Linked DNA regions of Homo sapiens: region 1 is linked to region 2. The links are contacts of gene promoters, found by promoter capture Hi-C in human tissues and cell types (Jung and others, 2019). All regions are on one chromosome and are shown on one strand. The core of a region is centred on a gene start or on the middle of the fragment in contact, and the rest is flanking DNA. Distances in the headings are between cores, read along the strand shown. Region 1 overlaps WNK3 (WNK lysine deficient protein kinase 3). Region 2 holds the start of TSR2 (TSR2 ribosome maturation factor).

Region 1 (7,534 bases), core at 5,035-7,534, 190 kb after region 2:
TGCCATCTTGTCCCAAACCCTAAACTGATGTGTTAAGTAACTTTGGAATGTGAATGATATAGCCCATTGGCTAAAATTATATTCCTTTTATCCTCTGATTACTTGTTACTGCCATTTCTCTGTGTATTTAAAAAACTCTTAAGGGCAGTATTAATGTATCTTCTTCCACTACTTATATTTATGTCATACGTCATATGGACATAAAAAATTTAGGAGTTATTTTTATCTCTTGTACATCTATATATAGATGCTTCATGAGTAGTTTTTAGGAGAAATAACTTGCTTAAATTAACTTGAAAGATATCTATTTCAAAAAGATGTCTGAGACTTAGAGCTTGTCATTTAAATTCCAAACGTGTTTATTGAAATTTTTGTATTTGTTGAAATATGTTTGAGTTTAAAGAAAAACCTGAAAAATGCCTTTGACGCAGATAAACTAAAAGGTAGCCTCCCCTTTCATAATAATATTGATGTAGACCTGTAAAATGTAACTAATTAGAATTAATAATGTTGAGCTATTTTTACATCATTCATTTTCATATCTTGTTCTGCCTCCTGCAGAACACTATTCTTGTCTCCCATACCTGGTCTACCCTGTTGAGTTCATTACATAAACAAGTATATTTTGAGTGATAATTTGTTTTGGTTTTAGAAGTTTTGTTTGAAGATATTAATAAAGTAACCAAACAAACAAGATAAAACTGATCAAGAGCACCCTATAATAAAAGGCTCCACAGAGGTCTATCACTGGCAATATTTTTCTTTCATTCTCATCACTGTGAGATGGTTTGCTAAATGCTAAATAAATACAGTGTGACCTTGATTTTTCAGCTTTTTAAGAAAGCTTTATTGAAATATAATTCACATACCATATAATTCACTCATTTAAAGTGTGTAATTTAATGGCTTTTAGTATATTCACAGAGTTGTGCAGTCATAACTTTTAAAAAGATTGTAGTATTAATTTTTCTTAAATTCATTATTTATAGTTTTATAATTGGGAGTTTTTCTTAGAATTTTACTGTCAAGACTGGAATGAGTTACTTTTTTAAAAATATTACTAGCTTGAATCAAGATGTGGCAACTACGAAGGAAAACGTCAGTAGCCCTGATAACCCAAGTGGAAATGGCAAACAGGATCGGATCAAACAGAGAAGAGCTTCCTGTCCCCGACCAGAGAAGGGGACTAAATTTCAGCTTACCGTCCTTCAGGTCAGTTTGTAAATATGGTTTGGTTAAGAGTACATATAGAGGTCTGGAGGGTCAGAGAGGGGCAGTGCTGCAGAAGTGAGTTGTAGAATATTGCGAGACCCTCTCTAAACTAACCTTTTCTCCGTTACAGACTTTCCAATGTGAGTATTATGTGTTCGTTGTTAAACTTAGGAAATATAAGAAAGAAAATAAAATCTACTTTTAACCACCATTCAGAGATAGCTCCTATTAATGTTTTAGTTTGTTTTTCTCTCCTTTTCCTGTATGTACATGTAGTGTTTTACATTATTGAGGTTGTAATAGTACTAGTAATCGCAGCAAAAATCTATTGAGTTCTTTTGTGGTAGGCACCCTAAATGTTATCCATGCATTTTACCATTTAATCCTTCAATAACCCTGTATGATAGGTCATAGTATATACTCATCTTTACAAATGAAGATACTAAAGATCAGAGGAGTGAGCCGGGCGCAGTGGCTCACGCCTGTAATCCCAACACTTTGGAAGGCCGAGGCAGGTGGATCATCTGAGGTCAGGAGTTCGAGACCAGCCTGACCAATATGATAAAACCCCGTCTCTATTAAAAATACAAAAATTAGCCAGGCATGGTGGTGCATGCCTGTAATCCCAACTACTCGGGAGGCTGAGACAGGAGAATCGCTTGAACCCAGGAGGCGGAGGTTGCGGTGAACTGAGATCACACCATTGCACTCCAACCTGGGCAACAAGAACAAAACTCCATCTGAAAAAAAAATGAAATCAGAGGAGCGAAGTAAGTTGCCTAAGATCACTCAACTAGCAAGTGATAATGTCAGATCTGAACCTAGATCGGACTTTAAAGCCCGTATCTCTAACCAATATAATGTATGTTTTAGTTGGCTGCTTAAACCTATATATAATTTTATATCCTGCATTTTTAAAAACCTAATATATCATGTATGCCTTCCTGTATCATTAATTTTTCAATAACATGACATTTTAAATGGCTACATTAGATAGCTGCTTATACAGAGAAATAACTTACATTCCCTATGTTCTTGGTTTATGTTCTTTCTTTCCATCTTTTTCCCAGTCTGTCTTTTTTCTAACTTGCTGTCTTTTACTCTTTTTGTCTGTCTGTATATCTTTGCAGCAAAATCCTTGAACATAAATCTTTGTATCTATCCCTGATTATTTCCTTATTAGATCCATAGGAGACGGATTCATGGATCAGAATATGAAGATTTTTAAAGTTTCTAGATACATGTTGCTAGATTGCTGTCCATAAAGATTGGTCCAGGTTACATTTCCATTTGCAGTGCCTCTTCTTTTGCTTAGAGTCAATTTATAGATTAAGATAATTTTGGAAATGAATTATTAAATTTAAATCTTTGCATTGCAGATAGCTCTAGTGACTATTATAACTTTTTTTGCTTTCTTATAAAAGTTGTATTGTTTTCTTTACCACAGGATCACATTTATAACTTATTTTTTACTGAGTAACTTGAACCTGTTAGTTTAGTCATAGAATGGCTGTTTAGATGGTATTCCACCAAGGGAAAACATTCTGAACTATTTAAGCCATTTTCCACATATATTGTACGTGAACTAGTGTAGATGTTCCTTGCACAATTTGCAAAAAGAAGACAGTGATTGACTCTTAAACCGGTAAAATGTTTGTACTCAGGTATCAACCTCTGGAGATAACATGGTAGAGTGTCAGCTGGAGACACACAACAACAAGATGGTCACCTTCAAGTTTGATGTTGATGGTGATGCGCCAGAGGATATTGCAGACTATATGGTAAGTGCAGTAAGACCAAATTATCTTCCCTTCAGCATTCTGTCTTTTTTCCCCTATAATTCTGTCTCCATTTATTTTGAGCCATTGTTTTTTAGAGTACGATTAGTTTTAAAATTTTGTACAGAGGTAAATTGGGTTATCATCAAGTGTAAGTCACTGCATCTCCTCCGGTTTCAGTATATTTAACTGGAAAATATGCAGAGGTTTCATTTAGAGATAATATAGCTAAATGGCTCTTATCTCTGATTGCATGTGAAAATCACCTGACAAGCTTTTTAAAAACAATTGTATTGCCTGGTCCCTTGATTAAATCAGAATATTTGGAGGTGAGGCCCAAGCATCAATAGTTTGTAAAGCTCCCCAGGTAATTCTTTTTTTTTTAGTTTATTTTTTGCTGGGCACAGTGGCTCATGCCTGTAATCCCCGCACTTTGGGAGGCCTAGGCAGGAGGATCACTTGAGCCCAGGAGTTCAAGACCAGCCTAGGCAATGTAGTGAGTGAGACCTTGTCTTCACAAAAAATTAAAAAATGCCAGATGTGGTGGCCACACTTGTAATCCCAGCACTTTGGGAGGCTGAGGGAGGAGGATTGCTTGAGCCCAGGAGATTGAGGCTGTAGTGAGCTATGATCATGCCACTGCATTCCAGCCTGGGCAGCAGAGCAAGACCCTGTCTCAAAAAAAAGTTACCTTTTATTATTTTTATTTTTTATAACAGGCTTTGAAAAAGCTAAAGCCCCAGGTAATTCTTTTTCTTTCTGTTTTTTTTTTTTTAATTTTTGTGGCTACATAGAAAGTTTATATATTTATGAGGTACATGAGATATTTCGATGTAGGTATACAATGTGTAAGAATGATGTAAAGGTAAATGGGGTATCCCTCCCCTTGTAATTCTAATGTGTTAGTCACTGATCTAACATCTTGCATGTTATTGTTTCATTTAGTTTTTAATATTTTCTTTGAATTGTTAGGTTTAAGTTAGTATTTCTTCCCCCCTTATTTTATTATTTTTTTTTATTATTTTCTAGGTTACTTTTCCATCTTCCCCTTTTTTGATGGGGATGGGACTAGGATGGCAGGAAGAGTGCATATAATGCTTTTTGTTTCTGCCAGCTTTCTTTGTGTATGCATTTCTAGCCAAGCAGAATTAAACATTTTAAAAGTTAATTATTTCATCATCAGTTCTGTTCTTGTTTAACGTAATATTTTCTGAACTGTCTCTTCTTTCATTCTTTTCAGGAATGTTTAACCTAATTAGTGGTCTTCCGAGCTATTTTTTTTTTTTTTTTTTGAGACAGAGTCTCGCTCTATTGCCCAGGCTGGAGGGCAGTGGTGTGATCTTGGCTCACTGCAACCTCCGCCTCCTGGGATCAAGTGATTATCCTGTCTCAGCCTCCCAAGTAGCTGGGATTACAGGCGCACGCCACCACACCCAGCTAATTTTTGTATTTTTAACAGAGATGGCATTTCGCCATGTTGACCAGGCTGGTCTCGAACTCCTGACCTCAGGTGATTCACCCACTTCAGCCTCCCAAAGTGCTGGGCTACCGTGCCCAGCCTTCCGAGCTATTCTTTATTTTCTTTGGAGATGTTTCATTTTGTGGTTTGTGATTTAAAAGCTTTTGGGTTTGGACATCTTAGTTTTAAACATTGCCTCAGTTATGTTCTTCAAATAACCAATTTATAGAATGACATATTTTTTAAAATGCTGGTTCCTTCTCTGGTAGGTAGTGCCAATCTGAGAAATGTCAGTAGTCTCAGAATAATTTAATGTATTTTTTGGCATTTTATTGCTGGTCTTTGTGAATTCTATTGTGACACTTGGATTTAGATACTTAATTTTAATTTTATTCTTCTTTTTCTTTTTCTTTTCTTTTCTTTTTTTTTTTTTTTTTGAGACAGAGTTTTGCTCTTGTTGCCCAGGCTGTAGTGCAATGGTGCAATCTCAGCTCACCATAACCTCCGCCTCCTGGGCTCAAGCAATTCTCCTGCCTCAGCCTCCCAAGTAGCTGGGATTACAGGCACCCGCCATCATACCCAGTTAATTTTGTATTTTTAGTAGAGACAGGGTTTCACCATGTTGGTCAGGCTGGTCTCAAATTCCTGACCTCAGGTGATCCACCCACCTCAGCCTCCCAAAGTGCTGGGATTACAGGCATGAGCCACTGTGCCTGGCCCAATTTTCTTTCTTTATGTGATAGTCACTATTTATATAATATTATAACTTTGAAGAAACTGAATTCATTCTCATGAATAGACTTACTTTTGGGCAGGTTGAAGATAACTTTGTGCTGGAAAGTGAGAAAGAAAAATTTGTAGAAGAATTGAGAGCTATTGTAGGTCAAGCCCAGGAGATCCTTCATGTCCACTTTGCCACAGAAAGAGCCACTGGAGTTGATTCTATTACTGTGGACTCCAACAGTAGCCAGGTGAGAACAATTGTTTAGCAAACAGATCTTCTCAGATATGAATCAGGAACTTTTTAATTTATCTATTCATTTTTAATTCAGACAGGGTCATCTGAACAAGTACAGATAAATTCTACATCTACTCAAACCAGCAGTAAGTATATTTAGTAAAATTTATCATTTGGTTTTTGAAGCAAGACATTTGAAAACTTTTAACACACCTTCATTGGGAAAGATGTTAGCCAATAAATTAATTTGGTAACTTATTAGTGTAGGTTTTCTCACACTTTGAAAGGCCCAAAGGTAATAATCCATCCCCTGACTTTTCCCCAAGTGTTGGTTCTTTATCTGATTGATTTATTTTTGAGTTATTGGGTGGTCATGTTACCAGAAAAGCAGTCACAGTACTGATGACCTTAAATGGCATAACTGTTTGAAACTTAACTGGTAAGTTATTTTTTTCTGATTTGAGATGGATAGAAACTTTTTAACAAAAGTCATCATTTTCTAAGTTTGCCTCATATTTCAATAGTCATTCGTATCTTGATTTTATTCTACTAACGATGAATGATATGCTTCTACTTGCGCTGGTCACTGATAACTTTTAGTAAATCAGATACCAGATAAACTTCCAGAAGCGAAAACTAGGGTCTCCTGTTTTCTTTTCTGATGACTTTATCTTTCCATTCTTCTCAGTTCTGGTCATGGGTATATTAAAGAGTGTCTGGGAGGGGGATAAGAGCCATAGACAAATGAGCACCCCTGAAGAAATTACAGGAACGTAAAGAAGCAAAAGGTGGTGTGGGAGTAATAGAACCAGATACCATTATCCTGAAATTTAGTTTGACTGTGTTAGGATGCAGTCCTTCCTATATCTTATTTTTCTGGTTAGCCAAGATATGAGTAGGTTTCTGACTAACAAAGTTGGGTAGAGTTTAAAAGAGAATTACTTATTTGAGTACATTTACAAAGTAGCAGTTAAGATGTAGGGGTTTATTTTACTTTATTTTAAAAAATGTCATACAGTAAAACTGATTTTCTTTTGGTGTACACTTCTGTAAATTTTAATACATGTATAGATTTATATAAGCACTATCATAATCAGGATACAGAATAAGAGATATAGGTTTTAATGAGAAAAGTGCTGTCAGTTTTTTCAAAGAGTACCCTGTTTCTAATTGCTATTCAAGCAATATTTGTTTCAGTAGAATCTAAAATCCTTCTCTAAAGATATTGTGTGCTTAGTACTTTAGACTTTTTGTCAGTATTAAAAGGGCTGGTCTTATCAATTACATATATTCTAGTACTATTAGAAATGGAGATATAAGACAAATTGTTTATTTAACCTGGCTTCTTCAGTCAATAAGGTAAATAAATTGAAAATAGCTTAGCATATTATTTTTTGCTAATTATTTCTGCAGATGAATCTGCTCCTCAGTCATCCCCAGTTGGTCGGTGGCGATTCTGTATCAATCAGACGATAAGAAACCGTGAGACTCAGTCTCCTCCTTCTCTTCAGCATTCCATGTCTGCGGTTCCTGGCCGACATCCACTTCCTAGTAAGCTTTTCTTCTCTGCCAGCTTTGTCCAGACTCAAAGGATGGGATGCAAAATACATATGATATCTTTAACTGGTTTCCATGGGAATTTTATGCTTATGAGAATTTTCATAAGCTTTTTTGAAGACATTAATATTAGGATACAACTTAAGCCATTTCCTATTTAATATTTATGAGAAAAAAGGAAAACATTATTTCCCTTGACAGGTTGAATTCTGTGTTTTGAGTCTTATTTACGAGAGTACTTTCACACAGGTTCTCATTTGCCCCTTTGTCCTCCTGTTCCTTTTGACTTAGGGTACTAGTCTGTGCTTTGTACTCGTCAGTACGTGCTTAGCCATTCTTTATTATTGTTCCAGGTCCAAAAAACACAAGTAATAAGGAAATATCACGGGACACATTGCTCACTATAGAAAATAATCCATGCCACCGTGCACTTTTCACCTCCAAATCAGAACACAAGGATGTGGTTGATGGTAAGATTTCTGAATGTGCTAGTGTAGAAACCAAGCAGCCAGCTATACTTTATCAAGTGGAAGATAACAGGCAGATAATGGCACCAGTTACTAATAGTTC
Region 2 (6,837 bases), core at 614-3,113:
CACTGTCCTACTTCAGGCCTCATCAGTTTCTAGACAAAAACAGCGTTCTCATCAGTCTTTCCCTCTCCAGGTTATGCTTCATACTGATTATTTCCTGAACTTTCTAGCCAGCAAATCCCATCCTATTTCTCACCCTAGAACCTGCCCACGAATTTTTACCAGCCACTGCAGTGTTTCACAGTTTGCCTTTGAGAAATATCTGTTCTGCTGGGTCTTAAGGGACACTATCCATAGAAAGCTAATGAGAAACAAAAGCAAACAGGTTTTTTAGTGGTTCTTATTCTTACCCAAGCCTTTAATATGTTCATGAGTGTTAAGACTTTTCAGTGGGAGCAGAACAAGAGTTTTTCTTACATAAGGTAACTGGAGAAGCTTCTTCACTGAACATCTAACAGAACTAGTTAGCATGAATTTTGGCAAACACTGGCCTAAATGATAAAATCAAAGGCACATAAGGGCTTCCATGTCTTATGCTTTTCAAGGGGGCTTCCCACACCCCAGCTTCATTCTCTACCACTCCTCCACCCCCCACGCACACACGCCCATACTCCAATACTGAGCTCCCTGCTACTTTCCAAATATAACACATTATACCCTCATGCCACAGAACTTGAGTGTTGCTCTCTCTGCTTCCCCCACCTAGTTAACTCCTTCTCACTAAGACCCAGCCCAATTCACCACCTCCACTAAGAAGCTGTCTCCCCATCCTGTTACCCCATGCACCCTGAGCTCCTCTTTATCAGAAAATCTATCAATGTTGTAACTATTTACGTGTGTGGATCCTCAATGGATAGTATACTTTCTTGAGAGAGATGACTCTGCCTAATGTCATCTCCAAAGCTAGAAATTGAATGAAGATTTTTTTAAAAACCATACTATGCAACAGGCCCTCTACTGGGCCTCTTGTTCTTGTATATCCCTCAAGACGAGCCTACAGTGTAGATCTTTGCTGTCCAAACAGCCACAGGTGGTTACTGAGCACTTGAAATATGGCTAGGCCAAATCGAAATGTGCTAAAACTGTAAAATACCAGATTTTGAAAACTTAATACTAAAAAATGTAAAATATCTCAATGTTTTATACTGACTACATGTTGAAATATTTCATACACACCGAGTTTACTAACATTGATTTCATCTGCTTTTTGCTTTATTAAAGTGGCTACTAAAAAATTTTAAATTATATGTGACTAGCATAATATTTCTACTGTACAGCGCTCTGGTGGATACTTTTATACGCATTTTAGAAACTAGGAAACTGAGTCTCAGGGAGGTAAACTGCCTTGTCCAGAGTAATCCCACGAGTCAGTGGTACAGCCCGTAAAGCACTGGAATCCAGGATTCTGATTCTAAAAGCTGAATTCATTCCACCTCACCTTTAGGTACCAATCCACAACTGCTCGAGAGGAAATGCAGGCTCTGCGGGATGGGGCTCCTCCTCTCCACACCCCCACACAGGCGGGTCGCGGCGCCTCACATTCACTCACCATTGCGCATGAAGTAATCCTCCACTGCACCCCCCAGCCACTTGGCCTTCTCCTGGCTGTGCACACCCCCGAAGCCATTCTCCACAGCGATCTGTAAACACAGGTCCAAGCCCACCAAGTCAGCTTGGGAGCAGACCTGGAGTAGCCTGGAGGCCGCTTACGCCGCCCAGCCAACTCCTCTTATGCCGCCTAGCCAAGCCTCAGGCACCTAGCCCAACCAACTCCTGTTCTGCCCCGGGCCCTAACCTTGACCTTGCCCTGGCCCTGGCCCCACTGACCTGCAAGGCCGGCCAGGCCTCCAGGGCCGCGCAGACCCCAGCCCGGAAAAGAGCTCGCGCATCTTCTGCAGCGCCCGCCATTATCCGGCCCCAGTCCACGTGACGTCCCGGCGGCCCAATCCCTCTGTAGCTCGGCCCAGGCAGAACGAGACGCAAGCCGAGCCTGAGAACACAGGATTCTCTTTTCCGCAGACCTGGCAGCAAGACTAGAGCAAAAGAAAAATCTGTCAGAGCGATCGATGACACCACCAGAGTTACTCACTTAAATCAAAGGACACCAGACCTGAAGGACGTGTGGGGCCATGGTTTCCGGATCCGTGGGTACTGCGGAGGAAATATGTGGGGAACTTATTACAGATACAGATTCCAGGCCCTGGGGCAGAGGACTCAGTGAGTATAGCCTTAAAAATCTGCATTTAAAAAAAGCATCCTAACATCTGTATAGAATACTGCAACCAACAACAGTAAAATACAATCAGCTCTCCCTATGGGGGGCAGTCCACGTCCGTGAATTCAACTAACCTCAGATGGAAAATATTCAGGAAAAAATTGCATCTGCATTGAACATGTGTATACTTTTTTTCTTGACATTATTCTCCTAAACAGTACAGTATAACAGCTATATACATAGCATTTACACTTTATTAGGCATTATAAGTAACCTGGAAATTATTTATTTATCTATTTTTTTGAGACCGAGTGTCACTCTGTGGCCCAGGCTGGAGTGCAGTGGCGCCATCTCGGCTGACTGCAACCTCCGTCTCCTGGTTTCAAGCAATTCTCGTGCCTCAGCCTCCCGAGTACCTGAGATTACAGGTGCCCACCACCACTCCCAGCTAATTTTTGTGTTTTTAGTAGAGACAGGGTTTCGCCATGTTGCCCAGGCTGGTCTCGAACTCCTGGGTTTAATCCACTTGCCTCAGCCTCCCAAATTGCTGGGATTATAGGCGTGAGTCACATCTGGAAATGATTTAAAGTATACAGTAGAATATTCATAGGTTATACGCAAATACTATGCCATTTTATATCAGGGACTTGAGCATCTATGAATTTTGGTATCCTCCGGAGGTCGTGGAACCAGTCTCCCACGGATACCCAGGGATAACTGTACATGTTTTTCTGAAGTACACAAGAACATTCTCCAGAACAGATCATACACTAGGCCATACAGTAGGCCTCCATAGATTTAACAGGATTGAACATACAAAGTATGTTGTCTGACCACAATGGAAAGAAGTTAAAAATCAGTAAAAAGAAACTTACAAAATTCACAAATATATGGAAATTAACACACTCCTAAGCAATAAATGGGTCAAAGAAAAAAATCACAAAGCAAATTAGAAAACACTTTTAAATGAATGAAAACAAAAACATAAAAAAATGCATGAGATGCAGCTAAAGCAAAACTTAGAGGGAAATCTTTAGCTGTAAACATGCATATCTAAAAAGAAGAGCCGGACATGGTGGCTCATGCCTGTAATCATAGCACTTTGGGAGGTTGATGCGGGAGGATGGCTTGAGCTCAGGAGTTCAAGACCAGCCTGGGCAACATAGTGAGACCCCATCTCTAAAAACAATTTTAAAAATTAGGCCAGGTGTGGTGGCTCACGCTTGTAATCACAGCACTTTGGGAGGCCAAGGCAGGCAGATCACTTGAGGTCAGGAGTTCGAGACCAGCCTGGCCAAGATGGTGAAACCCCGTCTCTACTAAAAATACAAAAATTAGCCAGGTCTGGTGGCAAGCACCTGTAATCCCAGCTACTTGGGAGGCTGAGGCAGGAGAATGGCTTGAACCCGGGAGGCGGAGGTTACAGTGAGCCGAGATGGTGCCATTGCACTCCAGCCTGGGAAACAGAGTGAGACTCTGTCTCAAACTAAATAAATAAATAAATTTGAAAACTAGGCCAGGCATGGTGGCTCACACCTATAATTCCCGCACTTTGGGTGGGCAGATCACCTGAGGTCAGGAGTTTGAGACCAGCATGGTCAATATGAACAAACCCTGTCTCTACTAAAAATGCAAAAGTTAGCCAGGCATGGTGACACACACCTGTAATCCCAGCTACTTGGGAGGCTGAAGCACGAGAATCGCTTGAACCCGGTAGGCAGAGGTTGCAGTGAGCTGAGATCACTCCACTGCACTCCAGCCTGGGCGACACAGTGAGACTCTGTCTCAAACAAACAAACGAACAAACAAAATTAGATGGGCATAGTGGCATATGCGTGTAGTACCAGCCACTCAGGAGGCTGAGGTGGGAGGATTGCTTGAGCCTGGGAGCTCAAGGCTGCAGTGAGCCGTGATTGTGCCACTGCACTCCAGCATGGGGGACAGAGCAAGACCCTGTCTCAAAAAAATAAAAAATGAAAGAATGATATCAAATTAATAACCTACACTTCCACTTCACAAAACCAGAAAAAGAAGAGCAAAGTAATCCCAAGGCAAGCATAAGAAAGGAAATAATAAATAATAGAACAGAAATAAATGAAATAGAGAATTGAAAAACAATAGAGAAAAGAAAAAACAGTGAAGCCAAAAGTCAGTTGTTGTTTTTTGTTTGTTTGTTTGTTTGTTTTGAGATGGAGTCTGGTGCTGTCACCCAGGCTGAAGTGCAGTGGTGCAATCTCAGCTCACTACAACCTCTGCCTCCCAGGTTCAAAGGAGTCTCCTGCCTCAGCCTCCAGAGTAGCTGGGATTACAGGCATATGCCACCATGCCCCGTTAATTTTTGTATTTTTAGTAGAGACAGGGTTTCACCATGTTGGCCAGGCTGGTCTTGAACTCCTGACCTCAAGTGAGCTGCCCACCTCAGCCTTCCCAAGTGTTTGGATTACAGGCGTGAGCCACCGGACCTGGGCGGTTATTTTTTTTTCAGAGATGAAGTCTTTTTTTGTTGCCCAGGCTGGAATGCAGTGGCACAAACATTGCTCACTGCAGCCTCAAACTCCTGGGCTCAAAGGATCCTCCTGCCTCTGCCTCCTGATTAGCTGGGACTACAGGAATAGGCCACCATGCCTGGCTAGTGTGTGTGTGTGTGTGTGTGTGTGGTTGTGTGTGTGTGTGTGTGTGTGTGTGTGTGTGTGTGTGTGTGTGTTGGGAGGGGGTGTCTCACTTTGTTGCCCAGGCTGGTCTTGAACTCCTGGTTTCAAGCGATCCACCTGCCTCGCCTCTCAAAATGCTGGGATTACAGGTGTGAGCAAATGCAACTGGCCAAGTCAGTTATTTGAAAAGATCAACAAAATTTACAAACCCTTAGCTAGACTGAGGAAGAAATAAAAGAAAGAAGACTCAAATTACTGAAATCAGGAACGAAAGAGGACGTATAATTACCGACCAGTCAAAAAAGACCACATATTGTATGATACCATTTATATGAAATATACAGAATAGGTAAATCTATAGAGACAGAAAATACATGAATGGTTGCCCAGGGCTTGGATGGGGAAAGAATAGAGTGTGACTTCTAAATGGCTTCAGGGCTACTTTTGGGGGTGTCGAAAATGTTCTAAAAATTAGACGAGGTAATGGTTGCTGTTATGAGCTAAATTGTATCCACCACCCCCCAAATTCATATGTAGAAACCCTAACCCCCAGTACCTCAGAATGTGACTGTATTGGGAGATAGAGCCTTTAAAAAGGTAATTAAGATAAAATGAGGTTGCATGGGTGGGCCCTAATCCGTTATGACTGATGTCCTTATAAAGAAGGGGAGATTAGAACTCGGTGCAATGGCTCAGATCACTTGAGGCCAGGAGTTCGAGACCATCCTGGGCAACAAAGCAAGACCCCCCATCTCTACAAAAAAATTTTTTTTTTAATTAGCTGAGTGTGATGGCTGTAGTCCCAGCTACTCAGGAGACTGAGGAGGGAGGATCACTTGAGTCCAGGAGGTTGAGGCTGCCGTGAGCCATGATTGTACCACTGCACTCCAGCATGAGTGACAGAACAAGCCCTGTCTCAAAAACAAAAAACAACAAAATATAATAATAAGAGGAGATGAGGACACAGGCAAAGAGGGACACCAGAGAGGTGTACACACAGGGACAACTATGTGAACACACAGTGAGAAAGCTAAGGAGAAAGCCAAGGAGCAAATCAGAAGAAACTATACTAAAAGCCATTGAATTGTACACTTTACTTATTTGTTGATTTATTGATGAAAGTATTTCCTTAAAATTAGAAATCTAATTTACAAATTACAAATTTTTAAAAACTGACAAATGTCACAAACATCTTCTAACCCAGAAAAATAAAATATTACTTTGTTGTTTTGTTTTTGTTTTGTAGATGCAAGGTTTCACCATGTTGGCCAGGCTGGTCTCAAACTCCTGACCTCAGGTGAGCCGCCTGCCTCAGCATCCCAAAGTGCTGGGATTACAGGCATGAGCCACCACGCCCTGCCAAAATAAAATATTCTTATTAATTACATGACTCACCTCTCTACTAATTTTTCTACATTTTTTGATATCAAAGAGTTTATAGAACTCTTCATATGACAAGTATTTTATATTTTCTAGAGAGAACACAAAGAATTCAATTGATTTCAATTCAGTTGAGTAAAATTTTTTATTATTAGTATTTTAGAAAAGTTTCAATTTCACAACTCATTATTAGTAATGTACATTTTAAGATTTTTGTCAAACTTGGGAAAATTTCTAGTTTCTTTTACATGTGAGCTGTAAGATTTCAGGTTATTTTAACTTCTCTTGGCACAGCGACAAATCTTAAACATTCTTCAAATAGACCAGGCTCAATAACCAGAGACCTGGAAGTGGCCTGTGCAAGTGTGGGGCCCTGATGCTTAAGATTGATTTGTTCTACGATAAATCTATCTCTGTGCAATGCCCAGGGAGAAAGGAGCACAGGGACTCATGGGAGTTCAGCAGAGGGTCCCTGACCCAGCCCTGGGGGCTGTGGCAGGCCTCTCGGAGGAGATGACACGTGAGCTGATTCTTAAAGTTTGAGTAGAATTTTGCTGGGTGATGGGGGAGTGTGTGTGTATGGGGGTGGAAGGTGTTACTGAAAGGAGGAAAGAGCCTTCTGTGCAGGGGAAAAATGTGTGCAAATACACAGAG

The links. The method cuts DNA at HindIII sites, captures the fragments that hold promoters and counts their contacts. A contact is called where the count stands out against the background at its distance.
Region 1: a contact is called between a fragment that was not itself captured here and the fragment with the promoter of TSR2 in region 2, in 1 of the 25 tissues and cell types used here (adrenal gland).

What each region holds. Positions count from the first base shown.
Region 1 is chrX:54,249,418-54,256,951 of GRCh38, reverse strand. WNK3 (WNK lysine deficient protein kinase 3) reads left to right here. Exons shown (of 24, transcript NM_020922.5): 12 at 1,065-1,212; 13 at 2,877-2,993; 14 at 5,265-5,420; 15 at 5,502-5,553; 16 at 6,821-6,958; 17 at 7,318-7,534. Among named protein-coding and RNA genes, the nearest start is that of FAM120C, 70 kb to the right of the region's middle. The HindIII fragment of the contact is 4,694 bases long and covers 3,938-7,534 here.
Region 2 is chrX:54,435,430-54,442,266 of GRCh38, reverse strand. TSR2 (TSR2 ribosome maturation factor) reads right to left here and starts at 1,863. Exons shown (of 5, transcript NM_058163.3): 1 at 1,765-1,863; 2 at 1,487-1,577. The coding sequence starts at 1,845. RefSeq lists an enhancer at 2,096-2,145. The HindIII fragment of the contact is 32,321 bases long and covers 1-6,837 here.